Linked DNA regions of Homo sapiens: region 2 is linked to region 1. Evidence: promoter capture Hi-C in 16 types of primary human blood cells and fetal thymus (Javierre and others, 2016). All regions are on one chromosome and are shown on one strand. The core of a region is centred on a gene start or on the middle of the fragment in contact, and the rest is flanking DNA. Distances in the headings are between cores, read along the strand shown.

Region 1 (3,039 bases), core at 87-2,586:
GGATGGTTTGCTGAAGGAGGACTGAGCGTGGGCACCCGGAATTGTGTCATTTGATGAATGAGTCAGACTAGGGGCGTCAGAAAAATAATGTCTTCACAATCAACACAATGGGATAGGCAATTAAGAAACACTTTGCCGATGGCTTGAGTGTCTGTTCCACTCAGAGGATACATTCCCGAAGAGGGATGGGGTGACTCATCAGGCGGCTGTAACCTGATGAAACAGAGCTATCCAATTTCCTCGCTCCAATTCCAGGCAACCAAATTATCTTAATATGGTTTTCCAAAGCAGTTTCCCCAGGCAAGAGGAGAGACAGACATGAGTTTCCAGACTAAGCAGCAATTGAAAATTGACATTTTTTTATAGGAGTAAAATTATATCACATATGAGAAATGACTGAAACTTTATATGAAGTAGCATTCAAATGCAAAGGGTGTCATCATTAGCAATATCACCATTGGTTATTATTCTCATGCTGATTTGGTCAGCCTTTGAACCAGTTTTTCTTTTTTTTTTTCGAGCTGGTAAATCCTGGGTGACTTGGTGAGTATAGAAATTCTGGGTATGCAAAGCTGATCAAAGATGATAATTACTGATATTTAGAAAGTGCTTTCACATACAGTTATCTCAGTAGCTCTAGAGAGAGAAAATATTATTTTCCCCAGTCTGTAGTTCTGGAAGGCTCAGAGAGGTTAGGTGACTTTTACAGAATAATAGAGCTCGTCAGGGTTTGGCTGGCAGTCAAACCCAGGTGGTCAAGTCCAAATCCAACTCACAGTGTTGCTGCTTCTTAAGCGAGTGATTATCCGCCCATCCAGCACACCCCCTCACATATATACTCACAAACATTTACTATGCAAGATCCATGCCCAGTGGGACAGCTGCAGGAGGGATCAGAAGCTGAGGCAGAGAAAAAACCAAAATGCCAATATATTCTGGAGATCATAGAACCGTGTCTCTTTCCCTCTTCAAATGCTGCTAAAAGCACGTAGAGTCTTTCTGGACAGCCGTCCCATGGCTCAGTCTTTTAGGCTTCCCTTAGTCCCTGGACTCAGGCTGACTCTGCTCATGGTGGGTGTAGAAATCTCCCATTCTGCTTAGATGGAGTCTCTGGGGTGTCAGGCATACCCCTGTTGCCTGCATCTACCTCCTTTTCTGTCTGGTTGTTTCTGCTGAGGGTGGCTAGGGACCCTCAACTGAGATGGCCCCCCACAACAGCACTGTTGGACCTAACACACCCTGGGTTCCCGGCTTCTCAGCCACTGGAGCTGCCAGTCTCAAATTACCGGAGGGGAGGGAGGGCAGGCCTGGATCTCAGGATCTCGGTCCTGCATGCAATGCAAGCCTGAGCTCTCCCGCCATAAGGCTGCAGCGGTGTGGGCTCCTTGTGCCCAGATCCTTTGTATTCATAGGGGGAAGTGGAAGACCACGCTGCCTGACTGAGACTTTATTATAGAGGCTCAGGAAAAAGATGAACTGGTCCCATTCCTGCATCTCCTTTTGCTGGATCTACTTTGCTGCTTCCAGACTGAGAGGTGAGAGGCTGGTGACACGTAACCTATCTTGTCTCATCTGGGGCTATTGCTTTGGTGGGAGGTGGGGCAGGACAGGGAAGACAAAACAGATGATTCAACCGCATGGAAGTGTTCTGTGCTTCCTACTGACTCTGATCTTGGTAGGGCATGCCAGAAAAACAACTCATCCATCCACCCAAAGCTTGTCCCTCGCCAGTGTTGGGCCATCCCCCATTTTAGACCTCAGTCTTGTGTTGTTTGTCTTGAAATACACACAACACTCTGAATGTTAATCCAGATCCCTCTTGTTGAGTAGCTGCAGAGACGGCAGATGGAAAATATGCTCAGAAGTTGTTTAATGACCTTTTTGAAGATTATTCTAATGCTCTTCGTCCAGTGGAAGATACAGATAAAGTCCTGAATGTGACCCTGCAGATTACGCTCTCTCAGATTAAGGATATGGTGAGTAACACATGGTGCTGACTCTGTGGAATGATTCTTAGAGGATAAACAACCATGCTTTCTGAAGAGAATGTCTTAACTGGGAATTTGAGAGGGAATGATAGCTCCTTAAGCAAGCTGGTGGGAGAAGAGAATGTCGGGAAAAGGAAGCTTTCTACAAAACTAATTAATTTCAAGAAACGTTACCTAATCCTGGTCATTAACTGTAACAGTCTTAGATAATCTAAAGAAAGATGGGGTTACATACTGTATGCAGCCATTTATATAAAATGTCCAAAAGAGGTAAATCCGTAGAGACAGAAAACGGCATAGAGGTTGCCGGGGTCTGTGGGGAGGACGGGGAAAACGGCCAGTGAGTTCTTAATGATTACGGCGTTTCTTTGCGGGGGGAAGAAATGATCTTGAATTAGGCAGTGGTGATGGTTGCACAACGTTGTGAATATATTGGAAGCCGGTGCATTGTTCCCTTCGAAAATGATTAAAATGGTGAGTTTTAATGTGAATTTGATCTTAATTTTTTTTTTGAGACGGAGTCTTGCTGTCACCCAGGCTGGAGTGCAGTGGCATGATCTCCGCTCACTGTAAGCTCTGCCTCCTGGGTTCACACCATTCTCCTGCCTCAGCCTCCTGAGTAGCTGAGACTACAGGCACCCGCCACCACACCCGGCTAATTTTTTTTTTGTATTTTTAGTAGAGACAGGGTTTTACCGTGTTAGTCAGGATGGTCTCAATCTCCTGACCTCATGATTCGCCCGCCTCGGCCTCCCAAAGTGCTGGGATTACAGGCATGAGCCACCGCGCCCGGCCAATCTCAATTTTTTAAAAAAGGTAGTGTTTTAAGATGGCATAGCTTATTAGTGCTTATCTATGTTTAATTACACAATGTTATGAAACTTGAAAGATTTTCCTTCTGCACATTGTTATTTCCTGACTTTTGCTTTCAAGTACATCATTCATTGATCAATTTTCAGGAAATATAGGCAGTTGATCTATGCAAAGATATCAATACTAAAATATTTGTCCACTTTACATTCTGAACACTAAATCTAGGAGGAAAAAAAAT
Region 2 (2,993 bases), core at 86-2,585, 260 kb before region 1:
ATTCAACAATTGTTACCATTTTGCCATATTTGTTTTATCTACATATATAAATTTCCTGAACCATTTAAAAGTAAACTAAGAGGGGCAAATAAGTTTTTTTCAGTTTTCCCTTTTAAGTATCATATGATTGTATTATAAATGTATGTATTTTGGACTTTGACATTTAAAGATTTAGATTGATATTTGCTCTTTTAAAAGATTATATAAGAAGACGTATATCTTCAGATCTCGCCAAGGAAAAGGAGGACATTCTCCCTATATAGCCATAAAACCATTATCATTTCTAGCAAAATTACCAGTAATTCCCTAGTATTATACTACTTTTTGATTTTTTTTTGAGACAGGGTCTTGCTCTGTTGCCCAGACTAGAGTACAGCAGCACATTCATGGCTTACTGCAGCCTTGACCTCCCAGGCTCAAGCCATTCTCCTGCCTCAGCCTCCTGGAGTGGCTGGGGGCTACAGGCACATACCACCATGACTGGCTAATTTTTGTATTTTTTGTAGAGATGTGGTCTTGCCATGTTGCCCAGGCTGGTCTTAAACTTGTAGTCTCAAGTGATCCTCCTGCCTTGGCCTCGCAAAGTGCTGGGATTACAGGCATGTGACCTGATTCCCTGATACATGCTACTTATACTATATTCAGATTTCCTGAGTTGTTCCAAAAATGTTTTTGATTGCTGTGTGGTGTTTTTTTTTCTTCTTTTTTTTTTTGAGAGGAAGTCTTGCTCTATCACCCAGGCTGGAGTGCAGTGGCGTGATCTTCGCTCACTGCAACCTCCTTCTCCTGAGTTCATGCAGTTCTCTTGCCTCAGCCTCCTAAATAGCTGGGATTACAGGTGTCCGCCACCATGCCTGGCTAATTTTTGTATTTTTAGTGGAGACGGGGTTTCACCATGTTGGCCAGGCTGGTGTTTTTTTTTTAAATGCCAGATTTCAGTCAAGAACTACCCGTTGCATTTGGGTTGTAATCTTGAGTCTTTTTAAATATATAGGTAGAACTGTCTCTTCTACCCATCCACCTCCTTCTCTACTCTGCCTCTCCTTCCCTACTCTGCCTCTCCTTCCCTGTGGTATTGACCTGTTAGGTCTGTTGAGACGATTACATTTTGTATTGCTGCTTGTTTCCTCATGGTGTAGTATTACTTCTTCCTCTATCCCCTATATTTATTTCCTGTAAACTGGGAGTTAGATCTAAAGGTGTGAGTAGACTTAGGTTAAACAGTTTTGGAAGAGTATCTCATTTAGTAATGCTGTGTACTTCCTACTGTTTCTAGTTAAGAGGCATATAATGTCAGGTCCCACTATTTTGATGCTGTATTTGATCACCAAGCTAATGTGGTGAGAACCTGATCATTTCATTATAAAGTTATGGTTTTCTTTTTGCTTCTAGCAAGTAGTAATCTATAGGGTGGTACTTTGACATCAGGTAAATTTTTTATTTTTTATTTTTTTGAGACGGAGTTTTGCTCTTGTTGCCCAGGCTGGAGTGCAATGGTGCGATCTCGGCTCACTGCAACCTCTGTCTCTTGGGTTCAGGTGATTCTCCTGCCTCAGCCTCCCGAGTAGCTGGGACTACAGGCTCTCGCCACCACGCCCAGCTAATTATGTATTTTTAGTAGAGACGAAGTTTCGCCATATTGGCCAGGCTGGTCTTGAACTCCTGACCTCAGGTGATCCTCCTGCCTTGGCCTCCCAAAGTGCTGGGATTATAGGTGTGAGCCACTGCCCCCGGCCTCAAATTTCTTTTTTTAAAAAACATTTTTATTTTATTTTATTTTATTTTTTGACTTTTTGGAGACAGAGACTCACTCTGTCACCCAGGCTGGAGTGCAGTGGCACAATCTCAGCTCACTGCAACCTCTGCCTCCCGGGTTCAAGCGATTCTCATGCGTCAGCCTCCTGAGTAAGCTGGGACTACAAGCATTTGCCACTATGCCTGGCTAATTTTTTTTTTCTTTTTTGAGATGGAGTCTCCTTCTGTCACCCAAGCTGGAGTGCGGTGGCACAATCTCAGCTCACTGCAATCTCCGCCTTCCGGGTTCAAGTGATTCTTGTGCGTCAGCCTCCTGAGTAAGCTGAGACTACAGGCGTGTGCCACTATGCCTGGCTAATTTTTTTTTTTTTTTTTTTTTTGATATGGAGTCTCACTTTGTCGCCAGGCTGGAGTTCAGTGGCGTGATCTTGGCTCACTGCAACCTTCGACTCCCTGGTTCAAGCAATTCTCCTGCCTCAGCCTCCTGAGTAGCTGGGATTATAGGCACGTGCCACCATGCCCAGCTAATTTTTGTATTTTTAGTAGAGATGGGGTTTCGCCATGTTTGCCAGGATGGTCTTGATCTCCTGACCTCGTGATCCACCCACCTCGGCCTCCCAACGTGCTGGGATTACAGGCGTGAGCCACCGCGCTCGGCCCACCTGGCTAATTTTTGTAATTTTAGTAGAGATGAGGTTTCATCACGTTGCCCTGGCTGGTCTCCAACTCCTGAGCTCAGGCAATCCCTCCCTGTACCCCCCCAGGCCTCCCAAAGTAATAGGACTACACTCGTGAGCTACCACTCCCGGCCCCAGATAAATTTCTTTCTTTTATTTTTGTGGGACTTTTTTTTTTTTTTGGGACAGAGCCTCTCTCTGTTGCCCACGCTGGACTGCAATGGTGCCATCTCGGCTCACTGCAATCTCTGCCTCCCAGGTGATTCTCCTGTCTCAGCCTCCCTCCTGAGTAGCTGGGATTACAGGTGTGCACCACCATGCCCAGCTAATTTTTATTTTTAGCAGAGACGGGGTCTCACCATGTTGGCCAGGCTGGTCTCAAACTCCTGACCTCAAGTAATCCACCCACCTTGGCCTCCAAAGTGTTGGGATTACAGGTGTGAGCCACCGCACCTGGCCAGGTCAATTTCTTTACCAACTTTTCACCTAATGATTTTAGCATTCATTGATGATTCTTGATTAGCTATTTAATTATTGGTTAAAAAATGGTAATTAGTTTTG

What was found. Contacts are between HindIII fragments. The CHiCAGO score rates a contact against its expected background, and 5 or more counts as called.
Region 2: a fragment that was not itself captured here is called in contact with the fragment with the promoter of CHRNA9 in region 1 in 8 of 17 cell types (naive CD4 T cells, naive CD8 T cells, non-activated CD4 T cells and 5 more); the score reaches 7.9 in naive CD4 T cells.

The regions. Positions count from the first base shown.
Region 1 is chr4:40,333,997-40,337,035 of GRCh38, forward strand. CHRNA9 (cholinergic receptor nicotinic alpha 9 subunit) reads left to right here and starts at 1,337. Exons shown (of 5, transcript NM_017581.4): 1 at 1,337-1,535; 2 at 1,831-1,976. The coding sequence starts at 1,472. The HindIII fragment of the contact is 7,151 bases long and covers 1-1,714 here.
Region 2 is chr4:40,070,130-40,073,122 of GRCh38, forward strand. The region is part of intron 1 of N4BP2 (NEDD4 binding protein 2); the gene reads left to right. Among named protein-coding and RNA genes, the nearest start is that of N4BP2, 15 kb to the left of the region's middle. The HindIII fragment of the contact is 6,116 bases long and covers 1-2,993 here.